Linked DNA regions of Homo sapiens: region 1 is linked to region 2. The links are contacts of gene promoters, found by promoter capture Hi-C in human tissues and cell types (Jung and others, 2019). All regions are on one chromosome and are shown on one strand. The core of a region is centred on a gene start or on the middle of the fragment in contact, and the rest is flanking DNA. Distances in the headings are between cores, read along the strand shown. Region 1 overlaps MMP26 (matrix metallopeptidase 26). Region 2 holds the start of OR51F1 (olfactory receptor family 51 subfamily F member 1).

The links. Contacts are between HindIII fragments. The study calls those that stand out against the background at their distance.
Region 1: a fragment that was not itself captured here is called in contact with the fragment with the promoter of OR51F1 in region 2 in 1 of the 25 tissues and cell types used here (aorta).

What each region holds. Positions count from the first base shown.
Region 1 is chr11:4,713,111-4,718,541 of GRCh38, reverse strand. The region is part of intron 1 of MMP26 (matrix metallopeptidase 26); the gene reads right to left. Among named protein-coding and RNA genes, the nearest start is that of MMP26, 11 kb to the right of the region's middle. The HindIII fragment of the contact is 6,949 bases long and covers 525-5,431 here.
Region 2 is chr11:4,767,769-4,772,907 of GRCh38, reverse strand. It overlaps OR51F1 (olfactory receptor family 51 subfamily F member 1), which reads left to right and starts at 2,970. Exons shown (of 1, transcript NM_001004752.2): 1 at 2,970-3,929. The coding sequence starts at 2,970. The coding sequence ends at 3,929. The region is part of intron 2 of MMP26 (matrix metallopeptidase 26); the gene reads right to left. The HindIII fragment of the contact is 7,923 bases long and covers 1-4,812 here.

The sequences.
Region 1 (5,431 bases), core at 2,750-5,249, 55 kb after region 2:
TTAATCTGAAATTATTTCACCAAGTAAACATTTATAAAAGATAATGTCTACCTTATATAGAAAGCCCATAAAGATTGGTTAATGGCAACAACAAATGAAGGCCACATCAAACAAAGGAGCAGAAAACAGGAAATGAATGGTTCCCTGAGGATACAGAATTTGCACAAAAACAAAGAGAGCAGCATTCCGTCTTATTTAAGTTCACATGTCTGATAAGTGACTTCAAGTGGTAGGTAGTCAGCAAATATTTGTTGAAGTGTGTTCAAAGGGTTGTATGATATTTTAGACAAAGAGTAATATATGCAGTGATTCTGATACAGTAATTGAATTACGCTAGCTTTTAGAGGCCCATCCAAAAAATCCTCTCTTTATCTCCTGCTATTTTCTTTCAATCAGAATCAGATCCAATATGTCTAATAAATAGCCAACATTTGTTGATCCCCTACTATCTGCAGTGTGATAATACCCTGGACAAGCATACAGTCTATTCGTGATATTAAAATTTAAACTGTCCCTAAGAAATTTTCATACCACATAGCGAGTGTGAGTTAGATATAAAAACATATACTTATGTATAAGCCAGAATTAGAATATATGGGGCCTCCAGTATGAAAGTATTATGGATAGTTTAATGTTATGAATTTTTATCCTGCATCCCAAGTCAACGTTTTTTACAGCTGCATGTTATAAATTTTAACTGGGTTAAAATACTCTTGACATTTACCAGCTGGGTTACCACATGATGAGTTACTAAACTGTATGTGCCTCATTTTCCCCATCTCTAAAGTAACAATGGTATGCATATCCACAGGACTGTTGTGAAGATTAACGTATGTGAAAATCTCAGCAGAGCATCTCACTGTGGTAAAAAACTTACCAAATGTTAGTTATTATCATTAAAGAGAAAAATTAAAGTTAAAAAAGTGTACACACATTGTTTTCCAAAATCTATCCCCAACCCCCACCATCATGTATCTACTTGTCTCTTTATCTGGTAGCTGAGAAAAAAAAAAAACAACATGGAAATATTCTAAATCTAATTTAGGTAATATCCACTGGTTAATATCTCTTTCTCATTTCATCTCTTCTTCCGCTACAACTATGTTTTTCTCATCCTTTCTTCATCTTTCCAAGTTAAAAAGAAGAGCTCTTACTCCTTTCCAGACAACCCCCATTACCTAGTCTCAATCTATCTTGGATGTTAGCTTTGTTTAACATCAAACATTACTGAGTGCAAGCCGCAATCCAGACTGTTGAGATACAGAGCCAAGTCAAGTATTGCACCTGCCCTGAGGATCATAAGGAAATAATAGGATAGTTCAGAAAACAAATGTGCAAACAAACAAATAATAAGACTGTATTTAAAATACAGAGGTATCTATATTAGAAAGTTGGAGGGGATGGAGTCAAACGGCTTCTCTGAGTAAGTAAAGAATTGTCGAGCAGAGGCTGATAAGTGAAAATCATCATGAAAGAAATTCTAAGCATATTCAAAGGCAATGGGGTTTCAGATATTTTAGAAATGCCACTAAAGTGTGAGATAAAACGTACCAAAAGGTAGTGTTTAAGAGGTAAGAAAGGGCTGGGAACGGTGGCTCATGCCTGTAATCCCAGCACTTTGGGAGGCCGAGGCAGGTGATCAACTGAGGTCAGGAGTTTGAGACCAGCCTGGCCAAAATGGTGAGACCCCATCTCTACTAAAAATACAAAACATTAGCCAGGCATGTTGGCACACACGTGTAATCCCAGCTACTTAGGAGGCTGAGGCAGGAGAATCGCTTGAACCTGGGAAGTGGAGGTTGCAATGAGCTGAGATCGCACCATTGCACTCCAGGCTGGGCAACAAGAGCGAAACTCCATCTCAAAAAAAAAAAAAAAAAAAAAAAAAAAAGAGGTAAGAGAGATCAAGTATGGAATTATCTTCTTTGCTTCAAAAGCATAAGAGATTTTTTCTATTCATACAATCTATATAAACATGCAATTTATCCCTCAATCTAAATATAATTAAAAACAACAAGAACAACGTTCTTCTTAGCCTGCATCCCTGCTGTGTGTATCTCCTTTCCTACACCAACAACTCATAAAATGATTTGTCTATCCTCATTTCCCTCCCTCATGATTCATACCTATATTTGAAATCTGGTTCTGTTTTTGATCAAAACATTCTTTGTTGCATTAGTTGTCTATAGCTGCATAAGAAATTACTAAAAATTCAGTGACTTTAAACAAGACACATATATTACCTCACAGTTCAGTAAGGCAGATGTCTGAGCACAGCAAAAGTAGGTGCACTACTCAGGATCTCGCACGGTTGAAATTAAAATTCCAGCCAGTACCATGTTCTTAATTGGAGAGGAACAATTGGAGATTGTTCTTAATTACAATCCTCACTCAGATTGCCGTAGGAATTTAGTTCCTTGTGGTATATGGTTGAGGTCTCCAATTTCTTGCTGGGCTTTTAGCTTCTAGAGGCTACCCTCAGTCCCAGTCATGTGTTCTTCTCACAATATGACATCTTAGGTCTTCAAATCCAGCAGTAGAACCTCCTTCGAGATTCTTCTCTCTTTTAAAGACTTCCGTGATTAGGTAAGCCCTAGCAGGATAGTCTTCCTTTTGATTAACTCAAAGTCAAGTAATCAGGGACCTTAGTTACATCTGTTAAATCCTTTTGCCATATAATGTAACGTAATCATGGGAGTGATATCCCATCACATTCACAGGCCCCACTCACACACCCAAGGCATGGGTATTGCTCAGGACAAGTACACCAGGATGGGCAGAAATCTTTAGAGCCCTTTTAGAATTCTACCAACCCCATCTGTCATGGCTATCCAGTCTCCAAATCTTTATAGGTTCAACTTCTGAAATGTCTCTTGATTGACCATATTTATCTTCCAGTTTTATTAGTGACCTTCCTCCCTACCCTCAGAAATCTTTTTATATACTCCACCTGGGCTTTTCCCTACTTCACCAAACTACCAAATATAGCAAGTTCTTTCACACTAATGTGCTTGCTTAATTCATGTAGTTCTCTCTTTTTTGAATAAGACAAAAAATTTTAGATCCACTATTTGATCCACCGAACTACGTATAAATTAAACATGAATTTATTTCAGGAAGCATTTGGTGGCATCACCTACTCTAAGTCAAGTCAGAAGAACTTACTTCTTCCTCTGGAGTTATATTCTTTTTTTTTTTTTTACAGGAAAAAAAGACTTTATTTGATAACAGCTTGATGAAACGATATTCTTTTATATTTATGCATCTAAAATAGTGTTTATTCCATTGTACGATCAAATACACCTCTCTAACAAAATTAAGTTACTGGAAGGTAGTTCATTGTTTTTTCATCGTTATATTCCCAATACCTTGAAATATATTTTGAGAAGTATGGGCATACAATATATACATGTTGATGTGAATTCAATCCAAGAGTTGTTAACTGACCAAGATTCTGAACACATCTCAGGACCTCAACACATTCAATTTTGTCTATTTAAAACATGCTGTGTTGCCTAAAATTATATATGTGGCTTCTGGAAGAATCGCACAGAGCTCTCCAGTGTTCTCACAAACTGAGTAATGTGTGTGTGTGTGTGTGTGTGTGTGTGTGTGTGTGTGAGAGAGAGAGAGAGAGAGAGATTTGGGGTTTTACTGATGGAAGACTCTGTCCTAGTATTGGAGGGTTAACTTTTATGTGCCCTCCCATTTGTTGACAGTAATTATCTTCCTATTATACCAAGATAACACTCCAGGCCCATTGTAAGAATGTGTTTCAAGTTATTTCCTGGGCTACCTTGACTTATCTCTCTTCTCTGATTACAGAGTAAGTGATATTGTTATACCGTCATACAAACCTAGGTTCAAATTTGGTCTCTGCCACCTAGAGCTAGCCGGAGTTCTCCAAATAAGCACTTTACATCAGATTCCACTAAGGTGAAACTGGTAGTTCACCAATGGCACTACTTTGTAAGGATTAAACAAGATAACATTGCAAAGCATATAATATGCTGACCAGTGTGTGGGACGTGGAAGTCACGTGATATTGGTAAATGAAGATGAGGATGAGGATAAGAATGGCAGTGGCAGTGTGTGTGACGGTGGTAGTGGCTGTTGACTTTAGGACCTTCAGTGGCAGTTATAAAATGTGACACAACTAACCAGGAAACTTAAAATTGCATGGACACATTAACAACCTGCTCTAAGCAGCAAAACAAATGGCTCATAGACCAATCAAACCTCCTCAGAATAGAATGTTCCTAGAAAATACAGATTTCAGAAAATAGATTTCCACAATTTTCCTTAGGCACCCACAAGAGCTTTCTGCAGCTAATAAAGTCCCCCTCATTCTTAAAAGAAACCAGGGCGTGTAAAGTGTAATGTTTTTCGTAAATGCAGCAGTTTTACTTACAAAGTATAAGGATGTGTTCTTTCCTGCCTGTTTTCCAGAAAGGAGCCTGAGGAGCTGGGGATGTATTCTACCCAGAAATAAGTAGCATATATCTGAAGCCATATCTCAGGATGCCTGAAAGCTCTTAATAAGCTCCTGGTGGTGATTTCTGCAGCCCCCAGAGTATGAAGCTTCCCAAGGGCTCATTCTACTTCATGGCTTTCTTCTCCTTCTACTTCATGTTCTTTTATAGTTTCCATGAAGGGACTGCTGTTACAGGTCTTTGATCTTATGTGTTGTTAAAATTTTCTTAAAAGTAAATTTGTGAGTAACCACACCCTCCCAAAAAAACCCACCAGATCGCCCCTCATCTTCACACCACTCCCACACCCAACTGATAAACTTATCTTCCTCCTATATTATTTAGGTGAATTTTATATATTTTTAGAAACCCCTCTGCTTGTGCTTCACTCTATGCCCCCCAAAAATCTTCATTTATTCTTTCATGGAACATTTGAAGTATCTTTCATATTCTAGGACTTTGTACTGGTAATACAGAGAATAAAACAGAGTCTTTTCCCTCCAGAGCTCCTTGGAGGGAACCACCTGTGGAAACAGACATAAAACTCAGTGTTTACAATGAGGGATATTTACGATGACAGTACAGAAGAGTTGTGTTTATCCTGAAGGAAACTCAGAACCAGGTCTGTCAGGAGACAATGGAGCACAGAGTGTAGGAAGAACAGAAGGTGACTAATAACAGACTCAGCTCACTTGGAACCCTGGGTGCCAGTGTGGGGGAGAGATGAAGCTAAATAGGGAGACAGGATCTATGTTAGGCATGAAGATCTTTTATGCATCCTAAGTCATTTGAATCTAAATAACATAATACAAATAACACAGCATGGAACTTAGTCTTTCCTCTTCCCTAGAAAAATGCATTTTTACAGCTCCACGTGAAGCAGCTGAGGAAGTCAGGCACCTAATTTGAGAATCCCTAATATATTGCAGTTTTCTGCTTGGTTTCAATATCAACCTGAA
Region 2 (5,139 bases), core at 1,721-4,220:
TGCACAGGAGTAATAGCAGAGTAGAAATCAAAGAAAAATAGCTGAGTGAGGAACAAATTACTGGTATTATTGATACCTAAACAAAAACAAGACTGTCTCCACAAATGTGCAGCTTCTCTATAAAGGAGAAACAAAAGGCTTGAATGTGAGACTTTTCTTATGAACCTAGAATTAGTAGACTGTAAAGTGTCTGCATCCATTAGTCAACTGCCTACACTGACAAAAATGAAAAAACTCTCTCAATAATCAGGTGCTTGAAAGTATTAATGCAAGAAAACAGCAGGGAACAGAGTAAGAATACATGCACATGAGAACATCATTCATTCATGGTAACCCTAGCTACTAGCAAAACAGGGCCAAATTAATATATCAGGAGCTGACACATTTACTGGGGGAAAACTCAGTGTTTGAAAAAGAATGGATTTGAGAATGGACATCTATCATTCTCCCTATGGTTCAATGTGGAAATGTAGGCATAGGAGCCTAGAGACTGGGTGTAAAGTTTTCCCTCTTTATTGTGACCATAATGATCCCAGTGAACAGTGGTTTCTTTTCCTATCTTGCCAGTACACTTATAATCCAGAGACAATGATGTACATCTCTCTATTCCCCAATGCTATGAACAGTGTGTAAATTTTCTATTTATATGCATAATTTGGTTTATTTTCCTCTGCATTTAATGTCCCTGTGGACCACAGGTTACTTGGATTAGTAACTAAAACCCTCTGGGATTACACACTCCTGCCCTCTAATTTTTATAGATAGGGAGAGAGGGTGGTTTCTTTTTTGCTCTGTCTTTGGCTGCAGAGAGACATAAATCATACAAATAATCTCACAGCTCAATTCTACCTTACTATAAAGTCCATGGCTCCAGAACTGTAGTCTATCCTTCCTCATCTAGCAAAGACAGAGAAGGTTCCTCTTTCCACGTAAAGCTGGTAAGAAGGGAGATAGATATATTTATCGTGTTGACTTTTACTTTGTTACCTATTCACAAATAGTCATATGGGTTTATAGAAAAGTCAGATATCATGAGGGTTTGCCCTGTCCTCATCGATCCACATAACATGTAGATATACAACCTCTAATAATTCATACTTAAATATTTTCATAATGTTTCTCAGATTGAATTGAAAATCAGACAACTGGAGATTTAAAATAAACCACAGAATACTAGCATAAAGGGAACAGTAACTTGTATCCTTGCTACAGAATATTTACTCTCATGAATTTGACACATCTAATTTTTTAAAGACTTGATTGAAAAATACTAACATTATACTCATGAATACTGCTATTATTTAATTTAATTCTCCCCAGAATTGATTTGAACAATATAAATATATTAATTGACAAAATTATTCTTGGAATTTTACTTGAAAGAGGCGATATAGCATTTCTGTTTACTGAGCCAATTGCCCTTCTCATTCGCTGTCTCCTGAAAACGTCTACTGTATCCGGAAGCCAGCAGCCATCACTTTACACTTTTGAACAGCAGTAAATTACCCCCAAATACTTCACAGAGAAAAAGGTAACAATTTCCTTATATAACTCTCCACAAACTTACATATTTGACACTTACTAGTGTCAGTGCAAATGATGGTCCTCATTTTTTTGAAGGTTACTCATGCTCTACACTTAATCACCCACTACTTTCTTAAGGACTTTTATAGATCAATAAATCCTTCACATTCTATATTTTAAATTTCTCATTATCTGCTACATTTTTAACCTCCGTTTATAAACATATCAATTTCTCGAATTCTGTCCCATCTTGCAAAAATTCTCCATCTACCTGATACCCCTTCTTTAGACATGGCCTACTTCTCCCCTTGCCTTCACTGCCAAGTTTCTTAAAATAAACCGTACCTCCACTGCTAATACTTTCATCATTACCACACTGTAGCAGGTTCTCAATTTTCCACTGTTTTTTCTGGGATCGCTAATGGCTCTCAGCTGCATTTGAATTTTTTAATCCTTACTAGGCTTCACAGCGCAAGCAATTCGACACAGCTGCTCATGTAACATCCGGTCTTCACACCATGTTTTTTTTTTTTCTTCTTTTTTAGACGGAGTCTCTCACTGTCACCAGGCTGGAGTGCGGTGGTGCAATCTTGGCTCACTGCAACCTCTGCCTCCTGGGTTCAAGCGATTCTCCTGCCTCAGCCTCCCAAGTAGCTGGGACTACAGATACACGCCACCATGCCCAGCTAATTTTTGTATTTTTAGTAGAGACGGGGTTTCACCATGTTGGCCAGGATGATCTTGATCTCTTGACCTCGTGATCCGCCCACCTCTGCCTCCAAAGTGCTGGGATTACAGGCATGAGCCACCTGCCCAGCCTCTTTTGGTTTTCATAGTCCCCATAAAACCAGTCTCATCTTGCTTTAGTGTATATAGTGCATTCCAGTCTTCTGGAGAGTTCTGTCCTCATTGTTTTTCTCTTATAATTCTAGTCTCTGAAGTTGTTTACCTATAGTGTTGGATGAAAATGATAAATATACATTGATAACTTTATATTCCTGGCAAATATCTGGAGATCTGTGTCTGCAGACTCATACCCTTATGGTCACTGAAGAACCATGGATATTTTTAAGTGGCTATTATTCATTGTACTCACAAAATATTCAAAATTGAGGATACTTATTTTTTCTCAGCTAAGTCTTTATTCAAATAATCTTACAATATGATGCATCTTAATATATTCTGTAAATGGACACTATCATGAAAATGTATAAAATCATATGGACATATTTCCCTTGAATTTTATGGTACAAAAACATATTTTTGTGAACTATTTCTGATTATGAGTGGTAGATGAACATTATAATTTAATTTAAAGGTTTCTCAATGATGCAGATCTTATCTATGACCTTGGATAACTCTACTAACTAAAAGAAAATGTATCTAAATATTTTACATAACACTTAATGTATCACTTCTATAGGATGGAAGCATTGTGAGGACAAATGCTGCAAAACCAGGACACCATGGAAATCCTAAGCAACTCAACATCTAAATTTCCAACCTTCTTGTTGACCGGCATTCCTGGCCTAGAGTCTGCCCATGTCTGGATCTCCATTCCTTTCTGTTGTTTTTATGCCATTGCCCTCTCTGGGAACAGCGTGATCCTGTTTGTCATCATTACCCAGCAGAGTCTCCATGAACCCATGTATTATTTCCTCTTCAGGCTATCAGCCACTGATCTGGGCTTGACTGTTTCTTCATTGTCAACAACATTAGGTATCCTCTGGTTTGAGGCACGTGAAATCAGTCTATATAGCTGCATTGTCCAGATGTTTTTTCTTCATGGATTCACTTTTATGGAATCTGGAGTGCTGGTGGCTACAGCCTTTGACCGTTATGTGGCCATCTGTGACCCTCTGAGGTACACTACCATTCTCACTAATTCCAGAATCATTCAAATGGGTCTTCTGATGATTACACGTGCTATAGTACTAATATTGCCACTACTTTTGCTCCTTAAGCCTCTCTATTTCTGTAGAATGAATGCCCTTTCTCACTCCTATTGTTACCATCCAGATGTGATTCAATTAGCATGTTCAGACATTCGGGCAAATAGCATCTGTGGATTAATTGATCTCATCCTGACCACTGGAATAGATACACCATGCATTGTCCTGTCATATATCTTAATTATTCACTCTGTCCTCAGAATTGCCTCCCCTGAAGAATGGCACAAGGTCTTCAGCACCTGTGTCTCCCATGTGGGAGCAGTTGCTTTCTTCTACATCCACATGCTGAGCCTGTCCTTGGTGTATCGCTATGGTCGGTCAGCCCCCAGAGTAGTCCATTCAGTGATGGCTAATGTATACCTGCTTTTACCCCCTGTGCTCAACCCCATCATCGACAGTGTAAAAACAAAACAAATCCGCAAGGCTATGCTCAGTCTGCTGCTTACAAAATGAACAGACATAGTTTTATTTGATACAAACCTGGCATGAATGACTTGCACTGTAGAAAAGCGAACTTGCTCTCTTACTGCCTATTGCATGTGGGTTTTTAAAATATTTTTCATTCACCAAACAAATAGTAAATATGTTGTATATTTGGTCATAAAATATAAGTATGATATATCACCCAAGACATTTGTAGTGGAATTAGGAAAATAACAATAATGAAATGATAAATAATACTCCTGGCAATTAACATGTATTGACTCTTTGTTTCAGGCTAGGTGTTCTACTAACTGCTTTTAAGACATATTCCATTTATTCTTCCAAAACAGCGAAATGAAATATATATTACTATTAGCGATATATTACAGATGATGGAACAGATTTATAGACATTTAGGCCCCCAAAGGCCATGTGAATAACATGAGGCACAGTTGAGATTTGAACCCAGGTGTTCTGTATCTCAAATGCTATGCTCTTCATCACTGTATTACATACTCTGCCAAAGTCATGTAGCAGAAATGTTTTAAGATCAAAAGTAAGACCTGGATCTCCATGGTTCCATCCTTTGTCTTAAAAAGTTGTAGTAACCTTCTTAGAATATACTCTAGCTGTTTTCTTCATGGATAATTCATAATACAAAAGGTAGGAATAGATATGTCATGGCATGTGAGTCACTATCCAGTGTTGGACAGTCCAAAGAAAAGCTTTAGGGGTGAGGCACACTTGCTAATTTATCACAGGGAATGGGAACTTGAGAGAACTAGAAAAGAATGTAAAGTAAATTACAAGGAAGTTTGGGGCAGATGTTCTGAACCTTTTTCTGCATTGTGGTCCCTTAGAAAGCTAATGAAATTTATGGACCTTTCCCCATAGATAAACATACTCACATTATTTTCCATAGTTTTCACAGTTTTCACAAATGCCATTAAAGACCTATGTGACTCCTTAACCAGCTAAAGAACCAAGGTAAAGAATTCATAGTTCTTGCCTATACACAGTTTTACAGAGACAGACACAAAATGTTTGGTTTCTGAAAACGAACTTATGGTAACTCTTTGGATTTAAGAGACAGACAGAAGCTTAAAAATGTCAATTGCATATAATGGCAGAATAAAATCAGAGGGAAATGGAGATGGAAACCTAAAGGCAGTCACATCAATTTTATTGCCATTGGAAAAATAGTGATAGGTGGAAGAAATGTACCAGGTACCCCACAAAT